2 separate regions of the Homo sapiens genome follow, and region 2 is linked to region 1. Evidence: promoter capture Hi-C in 16 types of primary human blood cells and fetal thymus (Javierre and others, 2016). All regions are on one chromosome and are shown on one strand. Each heading gives the region's core, a stretch centred on a gene start or on the middle of the fragment in contact. The rest is flanking DNA. Distances are from core to core; before and after follow the strand shown.

Region 1 (5,929 bases), core at 480-2,979:
CTAATCCAATATGACTGGTGTCCTTAAAAGAAGAGACACCACGGATGCTCACGCACACAGAAAAGGCCATGTGAGGACACAGTGAAAAAAGCCATGTGAGGACACAGTGAGAAGGCGGCCATCTGCAAGCCAGAGAGAGGCCTCGGGAGAAACCAAACCTACTCACACCTTGATCTTGGCCTTCTAGCCTCTGGAACTGTGAGAAAATAAATTTCTGTTGTTTAAGCCTCTGTTGTGTGGTATTTTGTTATGGTAGCCCTAGCCGACCAACACACCCCCACAGTTTCAGATTATACAGCAGGAAAAACACACTACCAGTCCTCCAAACACAGCAGAAGGGTGTCAACAACCTATTAAACATATTTTACAACCTTTAATATTCGGCTTTGTCTGTACTGAAACAATATTTCTGTTTCCTCTGTCCACACAGACGCCAGTCTCCTGCCTGGAAAAAGCCAGAGACAGCACACATTCAATCCCCAACTCCACCCCCAGCTCCCGGGCCACCTCAAAGACGCCCAGCCAGCCAGACTACCGCAGGTCACGCCATGCTCTCCCTCCTGCCAAATTGCAGCCCCACATTCAACAATTGCCGCCTTGTACTGATCATTACTTCTTTAAAAATTGGACAACTAATACTGATTTTAACAGCAATACAGGTTATAATTTTGCTCTCCCCCAACACAAGAGCTGGAAGTCCTTCACTCGTGTATTTCACTCATGTGTATTTCCCCAACACCAGCACATGGGTAGGCACACAGATGCTCGTTCATTCATTCGTCAACGAGTATTTACTGGGGACCTACAATGTGCCAGACACCAAGAGAGGCACCGTGAACAAGACAGGCACAGCACCCACTCTTACCACACTTACTTTCCAGCCAGAGAGACTGACGTTAATAATAAATTATACACATCATTACAATTGTGATACGTGCTATGAAGAAGCACAAGACGCAGCGACTGCTTGTTCCCGTGCATGCTGGTCGGCCACCTGCCACGCTCCTGTGCATGAACCCTCCTCTCTCCCAGACACACATCAAGATGACCCTGTCTCTCCCAATGCTCCCGTCAAACCAACAGCAGCCCAACTCCCCCAACACATGCAAGAACCGGTCACAGCAGAGTGTCAGCAAATAGGCAGGGTCTGTGCCTTGTGCGCGGCCAAACACCGCAGGCCTCACATCTAAAGGATGCTTTCGCCAGGCTGGGACAGGGTCTCCCTCCTCCAGGCATCAGGAGTGTGGGGGGCACAGGTGGCCCCACGGAGCTCTGGGACCGGGCGATCCTCTCCACCGAGCCCTCCGCGCTGTCTTCCAGGCGCTATTCGGGCTGGAGGGCTCTCGCGGAACCAGACGCTCTGCCCCGAGGCAGGTTCTTCCCGCGGCGCCACAGCCCCTCCGGCCCTGACCCCGCCAGCCGGCAGGCCCCTAAGTCGACCGCGAAGACCCTTCCTTCCCCGCCCGCCCGCTCCTCCTCCGCTCCCCCTCCGCTCCCAGCCCAGGATCCTTCAACCCAGAGCCCGGCTCGGACCTCAGCCGCCCAGCCCCTGAACTGCCCACGCCGCGGCCAGCAGCTCCCACATCTCGGCGCCCCTCAGGGCCTGCACCGGCCCGGGGGCGGAGTCACGTACCCAGGCGAAGAGCGCGGCCGCCGCGGGGGCGGCCTCCGAGGCGCTGGGCTCGCGCTCCATGCGAGGACGCTCCGCCGGCGCTTCCGGGAGGGACGGCACGGGGGCGGCGCCTGCCGGGGGTAGGTGAGCGCCGGAGCCGGACCGGGGACGCGTGATGGGTAGGGCGCGGGGCGGGGTCTGTGGTGGGAAGCGGCCCGCAGGCCGGGAGAGAGGGTGCGGCCGGGCCCTCGGGCCACTGGGGATCAGTGGTGGGCGGGGCCGGACGACAGCCCCGGAGCCGCCTCCCAGTCAGCCCGCCCCGGCGGCGCTCGCAGCGTCTCCGCCCGCAGCCTCCTGTCTCGCTGGGCCTCTCAGCCTCTCGCTCCTACCCCCTCGTACTCTTTATTTTTAGTCATAATTTCATGTTTCATGCAGGTGCACTGCGCGCCACAGTTCACAAAGCTCCTTCGCGTTTTTGTCTCCTTGGAGGCCCACGACAGCCCAGAGGGGCTGACAGGGCAGCGATGGCATCACCATTTGCGGGAACAGGAAATGGAGCCTGAGGGGTAGGGCAGGGTCCTGCCCGGCGTCTCAGGCGCAATTGTCTTGAGCCCGCTTTGGTGTGCGTTCGCAAACATCTGAGGGGGCGCCTTGGGAGGCGAGTGGAGTGGCACGTCGCCGGTGTCGCCCTCTGCACCTGGCACGGAGCGGGAACCCGCGCCTCGCGACGCTGAATGGGGGAGGCTGGTTAGCGTCGACTCCTGCCGGGGCAGCCTCGGCGCTCCGGGCACGGCCCTGAGCTCATTCTATTAATAATACTGGATAATCGTCACCCAACGAACATTTCCATATAAAATGGCTTTTCTCAGACAGCGTCGTGTTGCTGATGGGAGTTAATTAAGTTCAATTTATCTGAAGGAAAATATGGCACCGCGTACCGGGAATACAGAACACATAGGGTCACATTAAAGATGATCATCCACATTCACATTCGGTAGCACTTGGCCCCTCTGCTGACACGGGCCTCCAGCACTCACTGCCCTTCACCCCTGGGCTTCTGGGAAGTGTCTCCAATGAGCTCTTACACTGTCCTTTCCTGTTCTTTCACTCCATCCACTTTTAGGAGTTTCTGCCTGTAAGACCACTTGAGGGCAGCCCCTCACCTTTATCTCTCCAACCTGTGGCATCTGGAGAACGTCGATGACCATACCAAGAAAAAAGCAAACTTTGGAGAGATAAAACAGCTCTTCATTCTCTAGGGATCTGAATGTGCAGGAGCTATACCATGCTTACTGACTGTCTTATGAGTGGGCTTTTTTGTGCTGACCATTTCTTTGAAGCATGTGTAACAGGATGTAAAAATGGGATCCTTCACCGCTCAGTTTTGGCTGAGCAACAAGTGCCAGTTACTCCTATATCATAAAGTAAGGTTCAAGACCACCAAAGCAGGTCTTGCAAAGCAACTGTCTAGAAACCAGTGTATGACTTTCAGTCTACGAAAAAGGTTGAGAGGCCAGAGAGAATTCTAGTAGGATATGTGGCCACAATTATCAATGTGGTGTGGGTCTCAACCCATCTCAGGTCTAAGGAAAGTTACTTTACCTGGGTCCCTGAGAGAGCTTGGTATGCATCCCTCTAGATTTAGGACCCAGACAGGCTTCTGTCCAATCCGTTCTGAGAAATACAAGGGCTTGTGGCTGGATATCTGCTCTAATAGCTGAGCAAAGACAAACTGATGCTTTGGGGAGGTCTTTCACACCCACAGTTTTTCAAAATAAAAACTGTCCATTTCCCATGTGAGTATTTCCCATACCTGAGCAAACTGGCTGGGGGATGGTCTTAGACCTTGTCCAAGAGAATTTCTGGAAGGGTGAAGTGACACCCACAGGACAGTCGATCACTAGATTCCTTGAGGGTGAGGGAAATGAATTTAACAGCCCAGAGAGATACATTTACCTACATCAAGAAATCCCAAGAAATAAGAAGGTGGGAAGGTCTTCCAAAATGCCCACAAGAAAATGTCAGCATGTAATATTTACAAAGTACAGAAAGCACTGATGACAATTCACAACAGTATCAGACCAAAAAGAACTTTTCTCCTCCTTACCTCTCCTCCCCTCTACATCTCCCCAACCCTGGAGGAGTCCCAGGCATCCACTGAGTAACAAGAGACAAGGAAATTAAGAAACTAAGCACACCCACTCCTTTCTCAGTTCTGGAGGAGGAAAAAAGCTTCAACCTTAAAGTTTGTTTTATCAAAGTTTTTCCACAGGACTAGCCTTTTTAAATATTGAAATGAGAAAGAGAGAGAGAGAGAGAGAGTGTGTGTGTGTGTGTGTGTGTGTGAGAGAGAGAGAGAGAGAGAGAGAGAGAGAGAGAGAGAGAGAGAGAAATGGAAATTAGGAGCTAAGGACTTTTTATTACCTGTGAGCAAGCAGAAAGTCAGGCAGCAACCTGAGATTTCATCCAGAAGGGCAAGGAAGAACTACCTACAGAGCCAGTTTTAATAGAGAGAAGGTCTGGGAGAATATAGTTGTTTTCTGACTCCACCCCTTGAATGTACAAGCATCAATATTTTAACTAACCTACAGTTATATTATCATGTCATATCCCTTAATACAATTTATTGGAAGTGTTGAGATGTTGCAACTATTTCAACTATGTACTCGCCACTGCCTAGTTCTTCCCATGAGCAGCCTGGCTGAATTGCAGTTCTTGAATGGGACTAGATTTAAACCATCTAATGGCTTCACTTTCAGATGGCTTATCTCCCCAAAAGAGGAAAGTATAAAGTATTTGAGAACATACAGATTGCATCTCTGTACCATGAAGGTTAGGAAATTTTTTCCCGTTGGATTATTTTTTGTGATCATCCCAATAATACTAGTATGATAAGTGCTGTTAGGATTATTATTTTATCTTATTTTGTTTTTTTGAGGCAGGGTCTCCCTCTGTTGCCCAGGCTGGAGTGCAGGTGGCATGATAATGGCTCACTGCAGCCTCTACCTCCTGGGCTCAAGTGATCCTCCTGCCTCAGCCTCCCAAGTAGCTAGGGCTACAGGTGTGAGCCACCTTGCCTGGCCAGGATCATTGTTTTATAGATGAGAAAACTGAGGCTCAAAGTAGTTATTTACTTCAAGGTCAGTTTTCTACTTTTGATAAAGGAAGATTAGCTAGCTGCATACCTATTCTCTCATAAAAAAACAACTAGAAAATTTGACAAAATATTTTTAAAATATATTTCAAGTTATTGGAGAGCTATCAAAGCAGGAAGAACTTGAAGGGCCAAGATCTGGAAGCTGAGAGATTATATTTGGCACTACTTTTCTGCTTGAAGCACTTGCTAATTACTAAGCAATGTCTTGGAGGCTAAGAAACTGGGCTGAAATCAACAACTAAGAAGCTGAGCAGTACCTTTAGCAATCTCATAGGGTAGGGATGGGAGGAGGGAATGGTGGACATGAAGGAGGGGACAAAAGTAGTAGTCCAGAGCCCCCAAGGAGAAGCCCTGGTACACACTCATAGTTTTCTCTTGAGATCCCTAAAGGGCTACACCCTAAAAGTCAAGGTGAACTGGAAATAGACCAGCCCTCACAAAGACTGAAGCTCAACTTCTCTTTGGCTCAATCCCTAATTGGACTCAGACTTTACCATGCCATTATATACTGCCTACTAGAAGCAAAAATTAATACCCTCTTGTGGAAGATAAAATCATCTAGAAGCTAAGGGGGAATATCTGTTAAGAGAGTGATTGTATTAGTAATTCTTTACATGTGGAAAATGAGTTTTTTTTTTTTACAAAGTCCTCTTGCAGCATAACTTCTCCAATAATCTAGTGTAGTAGACTTAGTTCATTTTACAGATGAGGAGTGTAAACCAAAAATAAAATTCTAAGGCCCCCCCCAACCATCTGAATGGACTTTCTTCTAGGCCAGGGCACTCTAAAATGTAACCCGAAACACTGATTCAGGCCATGACTGGAAGTGGGGTCACGCACATGCCTCCTTATACCTCTCCAGCATTAACATCAACACAGACCTTAAGTCTGATAAGAAAAATTGACAGTCTGTTCTCTTGGAAGCCTGCCATCTGGAGGCTTCATCTGCATGATAAAACTCTGGTCTCCACAAACTCATACAGCAACCCAGACATTCCTTTCTATGAATTGCCAATTAGAAAAATTTTAAAACTACCTATAATCTGGAAACCTCCCACCCAACACTTTGAATTATCCCAGCTTTCTGGACTGAGCCAGTGTATCTTATAAATGTATTTGACTGAAGTCTCATGTCTCCCTAAAATGTATAAAACCAAGCT
Region 2 (6,434 bases), core at 1,331-3,830, 87 kb after region 1:
GCAACACGCTGGGCGCAGTGGTTCACACCTGTAATCCTAACACTTTGGGAGGCTGGTTAGAAGGCCGAGGTGGGTGGATTACTTGAGCCCAGCTTGGGCAAACATAGTGAAAACCCATATCCACAAAAAATACGAAAATTAGCCAGGTGTGGTGGCACATGCCTGCAGTCCCAGCTACTTGGGAGGTTGAGGTGGGAGGATCACTTGAGCCTGGGGAGCTCAAGGTTGCAGTGAGCCATGACTTTGCCACTGTACTCCAGCCTGGGCAACACAGCGAGAAAAAAAGGAAAAAAAAAAAAAAGGTAAAACTTGGCTGGGCGAGGTGGCTCACGCCTGTAATCCTAACACTTTGGGAGGCCAGGACAGGCGGATCACTTGAGCCCAGGAGTTCGAGACCAGCCTAGGCAAACATAGTGAAACGCCATCTCTACAAACAATACAAAAATTAGCTGGGCATGGTGGTGTACCATCTGTAGTCCCACCTACTCAGGAGGCTGAGGTGGAAGGATTGCTTGAACCCGTGAGGCAGAGGGTGCAGTGAGCTGAGATCTCGCCACTGCACTCTAGCCTGGGCGACAGAGTGAGACTTTGTCTCAAACAAAAACAAAATTCCTTCTTGTCCTCCAAGAGCTTAAAACACGGTAGGGGAAAGAAGTCAAGAACTGCTATTGGGTCCTGTCCAAAACCAGAATTTGTGTTTTCAAAATCATCAATAGAATAAAAATTCTGATCACAATGTAACTGTGGCAGCCTCATAACTTCTTCCTACAGAGTCTGCCACAGTGCCTAAAGGGGCGTAACACACAGGTGACATGTGAGTGGACATGTGGCCCCAAATGAGCCAAATCTCACCTAGGAATGTAAGACACAAAAGCTAAGTCAGTTTGCTTGGGGACCTGCAATGTAAAATATATAAATAAAATTAAGTCTCTGGCTGTCCACTGCTTCAGATTTTCACTAAATGTGAGGTGTGTATTTGAGAAGCCTTAACTTAAAATATAAGCTGCATGGCTTATGTGAAAATTAAGGGCCCTGGAACATCTCAAAGAGACAGGCAATTATTCTCCACAGCAAGTGAAACCAGTAACCTGCCAGACAACTGACTGAGAGAGACACACTCTACTTACTAAAGGACCATGGTCAGAGAAAATAGTATTTTCAAAGATACACTCTAAACTGAAAGTCATAATGGCAGATTCTCTTCACTGTAAGTGATCAAGCTGTCCTGTGGGCAATTCTTTGCCACATGCAGAAATTTTTAAATTTAATGGTAATTCCTGGAGTAGCACAAGGGTGGCCTAACAATATCAACACCAACAGTAATAAAATTAACATTCATTGAACAAGTATTAAATGCCAGGCACAGTGAAGTGGCTTGCATGCTATCTCATTTAATTCTCAAAACAACTCTATCAACTAGTTATCATTGTTAGCCCCATTACACTCATAAGCAAACTGAAGTTTAAAAAGTGTAGCAACCTGCCCAAGATTATACAGTCTCAGCAGAGCAAAGCTAGGATTTGAACCCATGAGTCTGATTTGAGCCTATGGTCTTGTTTTTTAAAAGAGATGGGGGTCTTGCTATCCTGTCCATACTGGAGCAGTGGCTATTCACAGATTCACAGGCATTATCATAGCTCACTGCAGCCTCCAACTACTGGGCTCAAGTGATCCTCCTGCCTCAGCCTCCCAAATAGCTGGGAATACAGGCAAGTACCCAGCGAGACTATGTTCTTAACCAGCACAACATGCTACCTCTCAGGTATTCATCTATTCATTCATTACTCCCCAAATATTTTCTGAAAAACCTAATAGGCACTGTTTTAGGTTCTGGGGATACATCAGTGAACAAGCTAAATAAGGGCTCAGTCCCATGGAATTTTCATTCTAAAGAAATGAACAAACAATAAATATAAAACAACTAAACTACACAATTTCTAAATGCTACAAAGAAAATAAGATATGTGCTAGAAACCAAGATAAAGCGGGCTACTTTAGACATGACATTGAAAAGAAGGCATTTCAGAAGGGGTGACATTATGCTTTGATGAGAAGGAATTTAAATCCATCAGAGGACACATGTAACAGAGTGAAGCAATTCTGTGGGAACACCAAAACAAGACAGGTTAATTCTGACTGGAGTGTCTGGGGTGGCATCACAGAGGAGGTGACATTGAAGCCGGGCCATAAACAATGAGAAGGATTTTGCCAGCTGGAAGCCATTCTAAGCAGAGCGGCATGAATAGTGCCCATGGACACGTGAAAGTGCAGGAAGTATCTGGAGGTCTCTGGTCCTCGCACACTGAATTCATGGTTACAGAACGATAGGCGACAAGACTGAGATATAAACTCACCAGACTTTGCGCCAGGGACCTCAATTGTCAGTGGAGAGCTCAGTTCTGAGTGGTGCCTCAAGGGCACCTCTTGTAAGGGAGCAAAAGGAGGCCAAAGAACATGACTTTGCCCTGCACCAATAACCTCCTTCAAACAGTAGCGCTGTTTTCTCAATTTTAAAACTGAGACTTTCACCCTAAGAGTTCATTTAAAACACAGGTTTTATTTCTTTTTAAAAAAATTTGTTTAACCATAATTTATCAATAATTGTAGAATAGAAAGTAGATCTGAACAATACTCTCAACCAACCTGATCTGACATTGAGAATAAGATATTCCACCCAGCAACAGCAGAACACACATGCTTTTTAAGTCAACATGGTAAATATTTCAGGTTTACTTAAAACCATATTCTGGGCTATAAAACAAATCTCAACACATTTAAAAGGATTCAGTGTTCACCAACCACAGCAAGAGAAAGATAACTGAAACATTCCCAAATATTTGAAACTTACCTATAAACCAAAGAAAAAGTAAAGAATATTAGAAAGTATTCTGAACTTCTGCGGGCATGGTGGCTCACGCCTGTAATCCCAGCACTTTGGGAGGCCGGGGCAGGGGGATCACTTGAGGCCAGGAGTTCAAGACCAGCCTGGCCAACATGGCAAAACCCCATCTCTACAAAAAATACAGAGCGAGACTCTGTCTCAAAAAAAATTGTAAACACAGCATATCAGAAATTGTGGAATACTGGTAAAGCATAAATATTTAGGGAAAATTCTATAGTGCTTGATGTCTATCTTTAAAAAGAAAAGATTTCAAACTATAAAGTATGTGGACAACTGATTTTTGACAAAGACACAAAAGCAATTAGTGGAGAAAGGATCGTCTTTTCAACAAATGAACTTGAACAATTAAATATCCATAAGCAAAAAAATAAACTTCATCCATCCTTGCACCATATACTATACAAAAATCAACTCAAAATGGATCACAGACTTATATGTAAAACCTAAAATTATAAAACTTTTAGAAGAAAATGTAAGAAAACAACACAATTAAAAAGCAGGCAGAAGATTCAAACAGGTACTTCACCAAAAAAGATACACAGAGTACAAATAAACACATGAAAAGATGCTCATCATTAGGAATTAAGGAAGTCCAAATTATAATCACAATGAGCTATCATTACATACTTATTAGCATGGCTAAAATTAAGAAGACTGACCATACTAAGTGTTGGTGAGGTTGAGGAGAAATTGGACCTGGAATTATGTCTCATACACTGCTTGTGGTTATGTAAAATGGTAAAAAACTGCTTAGGAAAACAAATTGAAAGTTTCTTAAAAAGTTAAGCATACACCTACCGTATGATCCAGCCATGCCACTTGATATATGGTCTGGCTCTGTGTCCCCTCCTAAATCTGACCTTGAATTGCAATCCCCATAATCCCCACGTATCAAGGGCAAGACTAGGTGGAGGTAAGTGAATCACGGGGGTGGTTTCCCCCATGCTGTTCTCATGATAATGAGTGAGTCTCATGAGATCTGATAGTTTTATAAGCGTCTGGCATTTCCCCTGCTCGCACTTCTCCTTCCTGCCACCGTGTGAATAAGGTGCCTGCTTCCCCTTCCCCTTCTGCCATGATTGTAAGTCTCCTGAGGCCTCCCCAGCCATACTGAACTGAGAGTCAATTAAACCTCTTTCCTTCATAAATTACCCAGTCTCAGGTATTTCCTTATAGCAGTATGAGAATGGACTAACACACCACTCTAGGTATTCACCCAAGGAAAAACAAAGTATATGTCCATACACACTTGTATACAAAAGTTCACAACAGCTTTATCTGTAATAAGCCTTAAACAACTCCAACATTCATCAACAGGTAAAAAATAAATTGTGGTATATACATATAATGGAATACCATTCAGCAATAAAAAAAAAAAAAAAAGCCACTGATATACACAACATGGATGAATCTCAAAATAATTATGCTGTATAAAAGAGCCAGACCAAAAAAAGCATATGAGCACATTCATATAAAACTCTAGAATACATACTAATCTGTAGTGACAGAAAGCAGATCAGTGGTTGCCTGGAGGGGATGGAGGAATGGAGAGGCAAGAGGAAGAGACTACCAAGGACCATAAAGAAACTTTCAGGGGTGATGGGTATGCGCTGTATCCTGATTACAGTGACAGCTTAATCTGCGTACACATCCGTCAAAGTTTATTGGCTGGGTGCGGTGACTCACTCCTATAATCCCAGCACTTTGGGAGGCCGAGGAGGATGGATCATTTGAGGTCAGCAGTTCAAGACCAGCCTCGCCAACAGGGTAAAACCCTGTCTCCACTAAAAATATAAAAATTCGCAGGGATTGGTGGCTCACACCTGTACTCCCAGCTACTCTGGACGCTATGGCAGGAGAATCACTTGAGCCCTCGAGGCGGAGATTGCAGTGAGCTGAGATCGCACCACTGTACTCCAGCCTAGGTGATAGAGACTCCATCTCAAAAAAAAAAAAAAAATCAATGTCAATGATACTTCAAAACAATATGCAGTTTTTTGGTGTTAATTATACCTCAATAAAGTTTTAAATAAAATGACTGAAACAATGAATAGCCATTGACAATTTTTAAGAAAATGAGTACAATTAAGTCTGTATTTCCGGAAAAAAAGGTAACACGGGTGGCAATGTAGAGGACAGAAGGGAGGTGAAAGAGACTAAAACAAGGATTTTAATCAGGAAGCTATTGCTAAAGTCCAGGTAATAAAACAAGAAAGATTACATAGGTCATTTAATGTCTTTTGGCCTCTATTTTCTTAACTGTAAAATAAGGGTACTACCTACATCACAGGGTTATTGTGAAGATCAAATAGAATACTATATATGAAAATGCTTTTGAGCTATAGAATAAAATACAGATATTAAAACACTATGATTAATACTGCAATTACAGACATATAATTATTTATTGTCCTTTCCTTCTAATATTATCATGGTATATCAGTGGTCTTCTAACTCCTAACCTGCTGTCAAATATATGGCCAGAGCTCTCTTTAGGTAGGTAAGTATCAGAACTTTCCCGGCCTACATGTGTATAGGAATACATTCATAAGAGCTACGTATTTAGTCCGAATCTGTTGAGAGCTCAAATCCTCCAGCCTCAAAGACAGAAGTTTAGCATTTATAGCCCCTGGGATCTCATTCCCTATATCATATATGGGTGTGATTACAGACAGGAGATAAAGCCTTTCCCCAGAGTGAAGGACTGAACCGTTTTTAAAACATTCATTCACCATCTCCTCACCCAACAGTCTTCAGAGTTTTGTTTCCAGCCTCATACCTCATCCATTGACATATCCCATACTCTGCAAATTTCATTCTCCATTTCTTCATCAAGCTCCGTCAGCTGCTCCTCATCATCTGAGCTAGATTTGGTGTTTTCAGGGCTAACAATCTTCAGAAACACAAAGAAAGAAAACATGAATAAAAGTTGTCTACAATACTAACCAGGTACCCAAATACAGCAGGTGATCAAATAACATTTCCTCGTAACGCTGATGAGAAAAAAATTTGATTCCTGGCCAGGGCCACTGTCTGTGTGGAGTTTGCATGTTCTCCCCAAGAGTGCATGAGTCTGTTCCAGGTACTTTAGTTTCCTCCTACATCCCCCAAATTTGCACATTAGCACAACGGGTATCTAAATGGTCCCAATCTGAGTGAGTGTGGGTGTGTGTGTACCTGTGATGGGATGGCATCCTGTCCAGGGCTGGTTTCTGCCTTGCACCTTGAACTGCTGGTACAGGCTCCAGCCACCCTCAACCCTGAACCAGAGCAAGTGGGTTGGGAAATGGATGAATACAAATTATTATAAAACAAAAATCTGTAAAGAAGACAATAACCATAGAGATGCGTGACAATAATTATGTGGTAGGAAAGTGCTCAGTAAGCCTGCCTTATTTGTTATTGTTTTTGGACTGTACAGTAGTAAGAGGTGATCATTTTTGCTTTGTAAACATTTATTCCTTGATTTAACACAATCAAAGAATAAAGGTTGTAGTGATAATCACTACAACCACCATCACTCACTAACTCA

Evidence for each region. The method cuts DNA at HindIII sites, captures the fragments that hold promoters and counts their contacts. A CHiCAGO score of 5 or more calls a contact.
Region 2: a contact is called between a fragment that was not itself captured here and the fragment with the promoter of SERGEF in region 1, in 2 of 17 cell types (naive CD4 T cells and naive CD8 T cells). The highest score is 6.5, in naive CD4 T cells.

What each region holds. Positions count from the first base shown.
Region 1 is chr11:18,011,318-18,017,246 of GRCh38, forward strand. It overlaps SERGEF (secretion regulating guanine nucleotide exchange factor), which reads right to left and starts at 1,730. Exons shown (of 11, transcript NM_012139.4): 1 at 1,634-1,730. The coding sequence starts at 1,693. RefSeq lists enhancers at 5-522, 523-1,039, 2,398-2,447 and a silencer at 1,398-2,017. The HindIII fragment of the contact is 12,002 bases long and covers 1-3,842 here.
Region 2 is chr11:18,097,552-18,103,985 of GRCh38, forward strand. SAAL1 (serum amyloid A like 1) reads right to left here. Exons shown (of 12, transcript NM_138421.3): 2 at 5,682-5,795. Among named protein-coding and RNA genes, the nearest start is that of SAAL1, 5.3 kb to the right of the region's middle. The HindIII fragment of the contact is 8,611 bases long and covers 1-6,434 here.